Linked DNA regions of Homo sapiens: region 2 is linked to region 1. Evidence: promoter capture Hi-C in 16 types of primary human blood cells and fetal thymus (Javierre and others, 2016). All regions are on one chromosome and are shown on one strand. The core of a region is centred on a gene start or on the middle of the fragment in contact, and the rest is flanking DNA. Distances in the headings are between cores, read along the strand shown.

Region 1 (5,963 bases), core at 1,549-4,048:
AAGGGAAAAAGAGGGCAAACATGAGGGCTACTCACCAACTACCCCCAAAATAAATACAACTAAAGGCTCACACAACTTTTTTTTAATCATTAAAATGTTGGGGAGGAAAGTCCAATCTCACAGATTTGCTTTAATGAGAAGACAATTCTTTTGCTTCTGAGGGAAGGCAAGCCTGGATAGCTGGGTTATTAGGATGACTCAGGTCCTGCTGGAAGTCTTCTACCAACAAAGACTTAAGGGTACCTTTCATGCCTTTGGCCACTGCTTGATGCAAAGGAAGGAAACTGATGAGGTATCTGTACTTAGGATCTCTTGGCATCAATGGGGAGACATATTTATGCTCAAGGAATGCGGAGCTGTAGCAGGACCTTCAGGAAAGGGCGCACCATGAGCCAGAGTACTCCTGCAAGGACCACGAGGCCTGGGCACAAACGTGTGGCCTCTATCAAAATCATAACACCACCAAGAGCACCCATTATTTACTGTTGCCCAGTAGGTGCCAGACAAGATAGTAGGCACTAATTTTTTCCTTAGAAACACTCAGTGGAAGCAAGTGTTATTATCCTCACTTTACAGATGAGGGCATGGACTCAGAAGGGATCAAGAAAGGTCACACATGTCATTCAAGGCAGAGCAGGGGATTCAAACCCAGGTCTGACAAAAGAACCAAGCTTCATCAGCTCTCCTTAAAGCCCTCTCCATCACAGTCATGAAGGGAAAGGTTTTTCAACTTGGATTTTAAAACACTTTATAGATGTAATTAGAATATATTCCAAGGAAGAAGGGGAAAAATAACCTTGATTTGCCTGCCTACTTCTTCTGCTCTCAACTTGAACATCATCTCTTCCAGGACTCCTCTACTGCTCCCACAAACTGGGCGAGGGGTCCTTCCTCAAAGCTCTCAAAATAAAGACCATCATCCTTCATGTGCAATCTCAAAAGCCAGTAAGCTCTGAAAATTTAAAGTGTTTTCGTAAGTTTGCAGCAAGCTCTTTTGGTGGCAAAAGATGAGCCGAACTAATATGAAACTCTTTTCAGCCTTTACTGAAATTATGTGAATATTCATATTCTGATGTGGAAGTAATAACCTGTTTGATGAAGGGGTGCTGCCCAGATCTGGCTGCAGTTATTATGGTATATATAGTACGTTGTACGCATATTACCTTTCTAAAAGCCAAACATTTCTGATGGGCAAACCACAACTGGTCCAAAGGGTTTCAGATAATGGACTCTGAGGCCAGGTGCAGTGGCTCATGCCTGTAATCCCAGCACTTTTGGGAGGCCGTGGTGAGAGGATGACTTGAAGTCAGGAGGTCGAGACCAGCCTGGCCAACGCAGTGAAACCCCGTCACTACTAAAAATGCAAAAATTAGCTGGGTGTGGTGGCGCACGCCTGTAGTCCCAGCTACTCGGGAGGCTGAGGCAGGATAATCGCTTGAACCCGAGAGGCAGAGGTTTCAGTGAGCCGAGATCGCGCCACTGCACTCCAGCCTAGGAGACAGAGTGAGACCCTGTCTCAAAAACAAACAAACAACAACAAAGAAAACAGATTAAGGGACTTTGGACCTATACCTTATGCATAAATGTTACTGCACTACGATCATTTATTCTTGTAACCCCAGCACTTTGTAGAGTGCTTTGCATATAACAGATACACCACAAATATTTCCTAAGTGAGGAAACAAGGCTAAGAAATTAGTTAAGAAGGGAAAATGGTCAGTGCCTTGGAAATGACCATGGCTCCCAACTTGCAGGTCAGGCCTCTAACCCCTGAATGCCACTTCCTTCGTTGACTTTGAAGGCCCTATAAATAGTTGCTGTTGATTGAGGGCAAGAAACATAGCTGCTGTCTTCACTAGGAATAAAAATAGTTCAGTGGTCTTACACTGATGGACCCACACATAATTTTAGCCCAGGAATACAAAGCATAGCAGGCAAATTCATACCTCGGACCACATGGGCAGTGTCATAGGACCCTGTGAGCTTGGGAGCCTTTGGGTCTGACCTGCTACATGCAGTGACCTTTCTAGCCTCACAATTTTCTTATCTGTAAAATAGCAACCAAAGTAGCCCCTAAGGGCTTCCCAGGTGGGTCTCTACCAAGACAGCTCATGGGAGGGACGGTAGCTGTCGCCCCACACTGCAGAGTCCTGCGTAAACTTCAGGAGCTTCTTCACTCCTGTCTACTGTTCTCATTCAGTGTAGTCTGTCCAAACCCCCCACACCTCTTCTCGTCCAAAAAAAGCAGAGTCAATGCAAAAAGAGGCAGTTTGGACCCGGGCACGGAGGCGGCTCATTCTCATCCTGAACAATGGCCAAAGAATTCTGTGAAAAGTAGCCGTAGCAACAGTTAGGTCCCCTGAATCTTAAGGAGCACGGGGTGGCAATGGGGTGGTAATCACTGGCTAGCAAGGACTAGATTCAAATAGCAAACTCTTAATTGCAAGGTCTCAGGTCACAAGAGGGCCAGACCTGGGAAGGAGAATGAGTTACATGAGAGGGTAGTTCCACGCGTTCCCTGGGGGCGGTCCCTCCTTACCTGGTAACACAGGATGGTTTGCTGCACCAGCCGCGCGTACCCGTCCAAGCGGACCCCGGAATTGCTCCTGCTCCGCATCTCCCCGAGGCTCCCAGGCCGCAGCGCCCGATCTGCCGCGTGGGCGCGGGACGTCGGGGCTGTGGCCTCCAAGCGGGTCTGGTTCCCGGACACTCACAGCCTTAGTCGGTTCTTGGGATGGGACCGGGCCGGAGGAGGTCGAGACTTTTCTAAACGCTAGCCCCAAAGTCCGGTTGGAAAGCAAGCCAACCAGAGCTCCGCGCGGCGGGGAGGCGCGGGGGCGGGGACGGGGGCTGGAGCGACGAAGGTCCCGCCTCGGCCAGGCCTGCTGGGCTCCCGACGCTCGCGGGAGCAGCGGGAAACCAGGTTCCGGGAGTGGGGCGAGGACGCCCCTGCCAAGCCCCTTTTACGTCCCGGCGGTCGCGAGGAGGTCCCCCGGGCGCGAAGAAGACGCCAGCCCACCCCAGCCGCCGGGGAGATCGCCCAGGCCGCGCTCAGCCCCGCCCCTGGCTCTGCCCCCGCCGCGGAGCGGAACCCTCCAAGTCGCGGCCTGAGGAGGAAGGAAAAGGGGGCGGCCCGGGAGAGCCGCTGCGAAATCAGCAACGGGCGGGAACCAGGTTGCCTCCCTGAGTCCCTTCTCTCCCCGGCCGGCTGCCAACCACAGCCAAGGCCAGAGAAACAGGCCCTTCTGCCGCGGCCACCTGGGCGCCTTGGACCCGCCCTCCGGACTCGCCCCCGCCCCTGCCGCGGAGTGGAACGTTTGGAACCCTGAGGGGCACAGGTAAGGGGGCGGCCCCGCCCCGCGCCCTGGAACGACCTCACGGCCCCGCCCACATCCCCGCCCCTGGCCCCACCTCCGCCGCAGAGCGGAACCCTCAGAGTCGCGGCCTCGGGGGGGACGAAAAAGGAGGCGGCCCGTGGGAGTCTAGGGGAACCCGGCTTCGGGCGGCGGACGAGTTGGCTTTCCTGCGTGGTAGTGTGGAGCCCCCCGAGACGGGTGCCAGTCCCACTCGAGGCCGGAGAAAGAGGGCCGCCTACCGCGGCCGCCTGGGCACCCCTCTGAGGGCCAAGATTGTAGTCCCACCTCTGGCCCCGTCTCCGCCGCCTAGCGGAACTGGAGTAGCGGGACCCAGCCCGGAAGAAAAAGGGGGAAGGCCCGGAGAGGTGCCCCAGCGACACCTCTGGCGCCTGTGACCCCGCCCCTAGCCACTTGGGCGCCGCTTCCTCGGGCAGGTTCGCAGTTCATCTCCCACGGGTCTACAGCTTGAAACTTGGCATTCATTATAATGTTTCGTGGCTGCTGATAACCTACAGTTCACAATCTTCGGCCTGGTATTCATTGTCCACCAAAATCTGGCCCACATAGGAATTTACTGGACAGCTAGACTAATGCAATCAATTTCCGCAAGCTCTTTTCCAGTCTCCATGCATTTACTCTATGCTTGACCCCTTCGGCCCTTCTTCCTCCTCCTTGACTAACTGAAGCCTATCTTTCCCTTAACGGCCAGCTCAGCTCCTCTATTAGCCTTCCCCATTTTCTGAATTTCTGTAGCCATTGGTTTAGTAAGAGCTTAGGACTTAGAGTCAGTTCATTTTGAGTTCAAATGTCAGTTCTGTCATTTACAAGTCGTATGACCTTTGGCATCCCGTTTTACATGTTTGAACTTAAGTGTTCTCATCTGTAAAATGGAGATAATCATAGCACCTACCTCACAGGATGACTTAAGATCAAGAGGATGAATATAAAGCATTTAGCACAAGCCTGGCTAGTAGAAAAATACTTAATAAATCATAGCTAATTTCGTTGTCACTTGGCCACAATGTATTGCCTCCTGTTGTTATTTATGTTTTCATGTGTGGATGAGGCATATTTTCCTAATTGGAATGTACGTTATTCATTGAAACAGTCTTTTGGTATCTCCTACTATGCCTGGTACAGTGTTGAGCATATAGTTGGAGCTCAATTAATGTTGCTCGCATGAGTAAATGAAATCAGTCCTGCTTAGCTGCGTTCCCTTATGTTTGGTCCTTAACCAAGTTTATATTAGATATTCCAGAACATAAATCTATGGCTTTACTCTGTCACTCAACTAAAGCACCAAACCCCACATCAGCTCACATATTACTTCATATAATACTTTGTTTTCTTAATATTGGCTTTTGAATTATGCAGTGATCCATGTGATGTGCCTCCATGAAGAATTTGCTGTGGTCTAGGGGTGAATAAAACTAGACATTGTTATCACCACTAAATGTTTTGGAATCTGAATATGTACTCTTGCTAGAATTTTCATGTATTCATCTCCATCTAAAAGCTGGGATCATTGCTTCTTTTCATTGTGGCTTTTGTTTCCATTGGGTCCTTCCTTAGGAGTTGATTTTGCAGCCATATGGGAAATAACTGATGATCTTTGCTCCTTATCTGGCATTTCCACCTAGTATAGAAACATTTTCAGTTTCCTGACTTCATTCTTCGCTAATTCTGCTGTGCACATTTGCACCCCTTTTGGTGTATAGGCAATCTACATTCTTCGGCTTTGGTCTATGCGATTGCATAGCAATATATAAGCTATGTTCTTCAATAAGCTCAAAATTCTGGGATAAAACCAAGAAGGAAGGCTACTCCGTTTTAGCTTTTAAATTTTTAAAGCAAATTTTAGTGATTCATTTTGGACCAGAAAGCTGTACTATATAATAAATCAGTCTCACATTTTAGTATCCTCATATCCCTGAGGTGCAAAACCTCCATATCTTGGTCCCCATATCCATGAAGCCATTCTCTGGTTATCACCAATAGAAACTTGTCTCCAAGTCATTTCTCAAATATTTGTCAAGAATCAGATATAGTATAATGATAGGGAATGTTATTGTTTCTGAAGCTGATTCATGATCTCCATAAAAATGAAGACCCAGAACTGGACCCTGGGGTAGCACCATGTATGATTTTTCTGACCCCAGCCAGAGGATCTGCCATCATCCTGCCACAGAGACTTCAGCCCAGGTAGTTTCCAGAGAGCCCCATGTTAACATCCAAGGTGGAAACCAATAAATGTTTCTCTTGTAGGGTTCAGGTCTTTGGCTCTAAAGAAAATCACTCCATCTTTGACCCAGAAGGTCAATTCTGAATGAATTTGCTGAAAATGACCAATTCACCAAATTTAGTTATTTCTATGATAATTTAGTTGACTGGAAATCATTTTTTCGTTACATTTTAAAGAATGTTGAATTTGTCTCTGCTCCAGCTTCCTGTAGCTCGTTTGAGGCTAAGAGATAAAGAGAGGAAACACCAGGGAACATAAGATTTCTTCACAGTGAGGAATATATTTATTAAATATATTTAAAAGAATATATTCTAAAAGAACATATATTCCATTTTTGCCTGCTCTGACTTCTTGATGCTGTACCT
Region 2 (6,771 bases), core at 3,454-5,953, 310 kb before region 1:
CATGGTGGTGCGTGCCTGTCATCCCAGCTACTAGGGAGGCTGAGGGAGGAGAATCGATTGAACCCAGGCGGGCGGAAGGTTGCAGTGAGCCAAGATCACGCCACTGCACTCCACCCTGAGCAACACAGCGAGACTCTGTCTCAAAAAAAAAAAAAAAAACAGTGCCAGATCCTCTTTTTGGGAGACCAAAGGCAAGGGGTGTTGGTGGTCACTGACAGTGTGGCTTTCATAACCAAATCCACTTGGCTCAAAGGCCATGTATGTCACTGAAGAGAGTCTGGTCTGTTGAGCTGTCACTGAGCAAACCTAGAGTCCAAGGAAGAGAGGCCTGCTTTCAGAGCCAATTCCTGGGTGCAATCCAATTTTGGACCCATTTCTTGCATTTCTTTTCTTCCCAGACTCCCCTCCCGCAGAAAGCATTTGTCTGTAGACAGCCTGGGGTTCTGAGGTACCATATCCTTATGGAAGTGAGCAGAGAGAGAAGGAACGACAGGCGTTTTACAGAAAAAGCTGTCACCAAAGGAGAAGCAACATGGCTGCTGCAGTCCCACACAATGATTTAATCACCAACAAACTGGAGAACAAAAGCATTTTTGGCGACAACATATTGTAATGGCAAAAACCGCAGTTACTCTTGCACCAACCTAATAGTATCATACCAGAAAATAGCATTGTTGGAAGGGGAACAAGAGAAATATCTCAGCCTCTAAAGGAAAAATAGTGAAATATTTCGATTATGTGGTTGCATATTTTTCTCCCTGTTTAGATGGCTTCTGTGATTCCGCCACATGTTACATGAGACATCCGCCAGTCACCAATCTTAGATTTATGCAATGTGGGCTTAGATTTATGCAATATGGGCTCATTCTGCCCCTTGGTCCAAAAGGGCCACTCTGCTGTGAGGAAACCCTTGTTGTCACAGCAGGAAATTTCAAGGCGTGTCTATTTCTTGAAATGTACCTTGCAACCCATGAGGAAAGGCGCGCTTTAGATACACACAGGAAAACCTAGTTTAGTCTCTTGGATTGGGTATCACCAACCATAGAGCGTTCCTTCCCATGGAAACAGATGAAGCCGAGAAGAAAAGCATAAAATTATGAATGATTAAAAATGGTCTGTAACCAGCTTCCAATCTGCTTGAGAAACAGGAGGAACGCACGCAGCAGGCTGCAATAATGTCCCTCTCGTGAAAGAGAAAGAAGGAAATTGCTTCTGGTGTGAAAGTGTTACTATTTTAGGCGACAGGCATATTCATGGGTAAATCTGTTATCTGCACATGCTTCAAACACAGATGAACCTCAACCACATATGCTAAGCGAAAGACAAAAGACCACATGCTGTGTGACTCCATTGAAATGAACTGTCCAGAACTGGCAAATCTTTAGAGACAGAAAGTCGATCCGTGGTTGCCCAGGGGCTGGGGGAGGGGGGAGACAGGGAGAATGGGGAGCGAGGGCTTAATGTTTGGGTGATGAAAATGTTCTAAAATTAGATTATGTGCTCCACAAATCTGTAAATATACTTAAAACGATCGAACAATAGACTTTCAATGGGTGAATTTAAGAGTATATAAATTACATCTCAATAAAACTGCTTTAAAAAAACCCCTGCAATCTCTGATGGTAACACAGTCACCTATAAGTTGAGGCTGAAGGACTTTTTTTGTTTTTATATAATAAACATGACCAAGTAATGAAGTAAGATATTTTAATACGATGGATGTTCTAAAAATCCTTATTGGCATTGAATCCAATATGTGCGGTGTAAGAGAAATAGAAGCCTGACTCAATTATAAGACATAGGAAGCCAGGTGCGGTGGCTCATGCCTGTAATCCCAGCACTTTGGGAGGCCGAGGCAGGCAGATCACCTGAGGTCGGGAGTTCGAGACCAGCCTGGCCAACATGGAGAAACCCCGTCTCTACTAAAATTACAAAAATGATCCGGGCGTGGTGGCACACGTCTGTAATCCCAGCCACTCGGGAGCCTGAGGCAGGAGAATCGCTTGAACCCGGGAGATGGAGGTTGTGGTGAGCCGAGATCACGCCACTGCACTCCAGCCTGGGCAACAAGAGTGAAATTCTCAAAAAAAAAAAAAAAAAGACATAGGAAATGCCTTACTGTGAGGCTGTGTGCTCTCCGAAATGAACCTTCATCCAACGCCTAAGTGAAGGCAATTTCTTTACCTTATTTCACTGTAATGAGGAGACACTGCCACTGAAGGACAGAAGCAGTGGAGGGTAAATTGGACAAACAGCCTTTGTCTTCAGGTTCCCAGCTGTACAATGGGATGCATCTTTCCCATGTCTATGGGCCTTATGCATCTCCATCTGGATAATATGCTGATTAAGTTCAGTGATTGTGTCCTCTGTCCCCTGGAGCATCCCTCTGGCCCAGGGTAGGGCACACAGTAGGTTGCCAAGCCACACTGGCTATTTTTGGCTGGCTGCTTTCCTTTCAAGTGCTGTTAAAGGCCTGCGTTAAGCAAGTAAGATAATTTAAGCTCCCCAAACCTTCCCACTGGCCCACGTTGCAGGGCACCTGGAGAGACGATGTTCTCTGCTCTTCGTGGACATTTCTGGAGCTCCCCAGCCATGCACAAAGATTGGTAAACTTTAGAACACGAAAGAGTGCTATCCTTCATGCCTCCTGACAGCCTGTCTTTTATTGCTGATATCCACTAACTGGGCAGGTCTAATTTTAAAATGCTTTGGTAAACATTTCTAGGACTTCTTCGCATCGCGGGGGTGGGGAGGTCACAGAACAGGGTTGTTAGACTCAGCACTGTGGAAGAAACAAGGATGCCCTGCATGTCAAGTCCTTTTTTTTTTTTTTTTTTTTGAGACTGAGTCTCGCTCAGTCACCCAGGCTGGAGTGCAATGGCATGATCTCAGCTCACTGCAACCTCCCTCTCCAGCAATCAGACGATTCTCCCGCTTCAGCCTCCCCCGAGTAGCTGGGATTAGAGGCACCTGCCATCATGCCCAGATACTTTTTGTATTTTTGTAGAGACGGGGTTTCACCAGGTTGGGCAGGCTGGTCTCAAACTCCTGACCTCAGGTGATAGACCCGCCTCAGCCTCCCAAAGTGCTGGGATTACAGTCATGAGCCACCGCGCCCCGCCGTCATACACAATGTTTGCCCCCTAGCAGATAGTCAGGGATGAGCTCTTAAAAGAAGGGACCAAGGAATGAATGAATGAATCTCCATGCCAATCACAAAGAAGAGAAATCCGAGAGTGAGCCCTGGGAGTGTCTGACAACCAGGAGTATTTAGATCTAAGCCTTGAAAGAGTCTGCTTAGATTTTCTTGCTGAGGAAAGAGGAGGGGGCAAGGAGTAAAAGGAAAAACAACAAAACCCCAAAGCATCTTAAAGTAGTCAGAGTTACTGGGACAAGTTGCAGACTATTAATTGCAAGGGGAAAAAATCCTAACAGACAACTGGTTTACATGATCCCTACTTAGAAATATACCTTGGGGTTTGCAGAATGACCTTGGAATTATATTGTCACCAGTCTTTCCAAATACTGAGAAATGTGACTAAGTAACAAAAGTCATCAGCCTGGGAAACATGGTGAAAACCCCTCTCTACAAGAAATACAATAAATTAGCCGGATGTGGTGGTGCGTGCCTGTAGTCCCAGCTACTAGGGAGGCTGAGGCAGGAGGATGGCTTGAGCCTGGGAGGTTGAGGCTACAGTGAGCCGTGAAACCAAGAATTCTGATTCTACTTGTGTGAGTTTCGCTGTGTCTGTCTACCAGGTCATTTGCAGAGCACAGAGACCTCCTTCTCCCTGCTTTTTAATTTATTTTCTATAACACACAAATACACGATGTCCACAAAGAAGACAGGCAACCAATTTCTAACATCTGGATGAACCTGAGGAGAAATTCTGAGCAGATGGGTACTTGAGAATTGAGAGAGGCATGAAAGAATATTATTTCAAAGATTGAGAGGGAATTGGAACTGGATGACATTTTACAGATTTGCCCTTATTTTTTCCTAATTGAAGCATATCACTTCTGCTAGGGTCATATTTAGAAATTTTAAAATGAGTGAGTGTACTGAGTCTCCGAGGTTTCCTGACTCTCAGTTGGATTATGTTTTTTATTAGATTCCAGTGGTACTGGGTATGTTACGTTAATCCATATTTAAACTAGGTTGACCTTACACCCCAATTTGCCCTGGATGGTCCTGGGTTACACCTGTCGTCCCAACAGAATTATTAATAGCATCGTCCTCCACCGTCAATAGCATTCCGGTTTGGAATATTAAATTCTACAATCACTCCCACTTTGACTCCTAAAAGTTTTCCAGAATATGCCATACTTTCTCATTAATTGTTGCAACTTATGGCTATTTTATAGATTTCTGAGACCCATCCTGTTTTCTGTTGGATTTTAAGCATCCTTTGAACTTTAGAAGGCTCCTCACAGAACTGGAAAGCCATCCACACAAAGACAACTGTTGTTCATTAATAACACATGTTAGTTAATTAACGTGTTGCTAATTAATAATATTTATATTATTCAGGCTATATTCCTATTTATCAACGATATTAATTAAATTATGTATTAAGTATGCAATGAATGTCAATGGTTGAATAGCACATACCTTCATAGCCAAAGAGAAGTAATAACAAAAAGCCTTCTATCTTGCGTGACATCTTCCCCTCGTCCTCGGCCAAAGCTCTACCTTACTGAACTGGAGAGCTGGCCCAGGAGCAGGGGATTAAGTTGAGCCCTGGCCTCATTAAGCATCTTAATCCATTTAGTTCTTAGGTCTTTGGCTGAGCCCCATCAAGTTAACCCACAGAGTTACCTGCCTCAACAAGGAAGTCTCATGGAAGATACTAGCATCAACTGAGATTCAGTTCGCGAGGAAGATACTTTTCGTTCTTTTTTTTTTTTTTTTTTTTTTTTTTGAGATGGAGTTTCGCTCTTGTCACCCAGGCTGGAGTGCAATGGCGCCATCTCGGCTCACTGCAACCTCTGCCTCCCGGGTTCAATCTAGTCTCCTGCCTCAGCCTTCCGAGTAGCTGGGATTATAGGCTCACGCCACCACGCCCAGCTAATTTTTGTATTTTTAGTAGAGATGGGGTTTCGTCATGTCAGTCAGGCTGGTCTCGGACTCCTGACCTCAGGTGATCCACCCACCTCGGCCTCCCAAAGTGCTGGGATTACAGGCGTCAGCCACTGCGCCCGGCCCATACTGTTCATTCTATCTTAATGTAAGGGAAGCAATGGAGGGAGAGAACTACAACCAGAAGTCTCAGGTTTTCGTCCTTTCTTCGCCATCATTTTTTAGGGGGTGACCTTGAACAATTTCCTGCCACATAAGCACTAACATTCTCGAATTGTATGAAAATGTCATGGATTCCCCTCTTTGAAAGCAACTAGGCATCATGTGCACACCTATTCACTCAGGAAAATGCTAAATTTGGTGGTGGTGGGAGGACAGTTAACACAAAGCTGTGCATTGCTGTGTTACTTTTAACAACAACAAATTGGAAACAATCTAAATGGCCAAGGTTAGGGGGCTGGTTAAGTAAATCAAGAGATGAGTGCAGCCTGGTAGGTTTAAGAGCACAGACTGCCAACCCAGACTGGGTGCCAAATCGCAGCACTAGCACTTGTTACATTGTGACCTCAGGGCAAGTTATTAATATCTCTGCGCCTAAACTTTCTCATCTGTAAGATGATGATAATAATGCCTACTTTCGAGAGTTATTTTGAGGCTTACAAGAGATCATATGTATAAAATACTTAGCACAGTGCTAGACATAATTAGCTATTATTTTTACATCACCATTCAGAATAAAGTTGATGGGAGGAAAAGGGGAGTTGTTTAATAGGTATAGAGTTGAGTTTTGCAAGATGAAAAAGTTCCCGAGATCTGTTTCACAACAATGTGAATATACTTAACACTACTGAACTGTACACTTAAAAATGATTATGGTGGGCTGGAGGTGGTGGCTCACACCTGTAATCCCAGCACTTTGGGAGGCCAAGGCAGGCAGATCACTTGAGGTCAGGAGTTCGAGACCAGCCTGGGCAACATGGCGAAACCTCGTCTCTACCAAAAATACAAAAATTAGTCGGGCGTGGTGGCGTGCACCTATAATCTCAGCTACTCGGGAGGCTGAGGCAGGAGAATCGCTTGAACCCAGGAGGCCGAGGTTTCAGTGAGCCGAGATTGTACCACTGCACTCCAGCCTGGGTGACAGAGCCAGACTCTGTCTCAAAAAAAAAAAAAAATGGTTAAGGTGGTTTTAAAAAAGGCCGGGCACGGTGGCTCAAGCCTGTAATCCTAGCACTTTGGGAGGCCGAGGCGGGCGGATCACGAGGTCAGGAGATCGAGACCATCCTGGCTAACACGGTGAAACCCCGTCTCAACTAAAAATACAAAAAATTAGCCGGGCGAGGTGGCAGGCGCCTGTAGTCCCAGCTACTCGGGAGGCTGAGGCAGGAGAATGGTGTGAACCCGGGAGGCAGAGGTTGCAGTGAGCTGAGATCACGACACTGCACTCCAGCCTGGGCGACAGAGTGAGACTCCGCCTCCAAAAAAAAAAAAAAGAATAAAGTTGATGAAGTGATTGTAATAACAGGGAAAGAGTTACACTCAAGTTAGAAAAAGACGCAAATTTCTACACTGTTAAGGATGCATAACTAGGTTGAAAATGCAGAGAAAAATACTGAGTGCCCCTTCCCATTTTATATTTTTTGCTACCACCATCTCACCATGGCCCACACCCTCATTCCTCTTGTCAAAGA

The links. The method cuts DNA at HindIII sites, captures the fragments that hold promoters and counts their contacts. A CHiCAGO score of 5 or more calls a contact.
Region 2: the fragment with the promoter of RS1 here is called in contact with the fragment with the promoter of PHKA2 in region 1 in 7 of 17 cell types (naive B cells, total B cells, naive CD4 T cells and 4 more); the score reaches 8.5 in naive B cells.

Annotation. Positions count from the first base shown.
Region 1 is chrX:18,981,316-18,987,278 of GRCh38, forward strand. It overlaps PHKA2 (phosphorylase kinase regulatory subunit alpha 2), which reads right to left and starts at 2,799. Exons shown (of 33, transcript NM_000292.3): 1 at 2,540-2,799. The coding sequence starts at 2,617. RefSeq lists enhancers at 2,601-3,101, 3,102-3,602, 3,584-3,633 and a silencer at 2,794-3,483. The HindIII fragment of the contact is 8,902 bases long and covers 670-5,963 here.
Region 2 is chrX:18,667,405-18,674,175 of GRCh38, forward strand. RS1 (retinoschisin 1) reads right to left here and starts at 4,704. Exons shown (of 6, transcript NM_000330.4): 1 at 4,613-4,704. The coding sequence starts at 4,664. The HindIII fragment of the contact is 14,405 bases long and covers 1-6,771 here.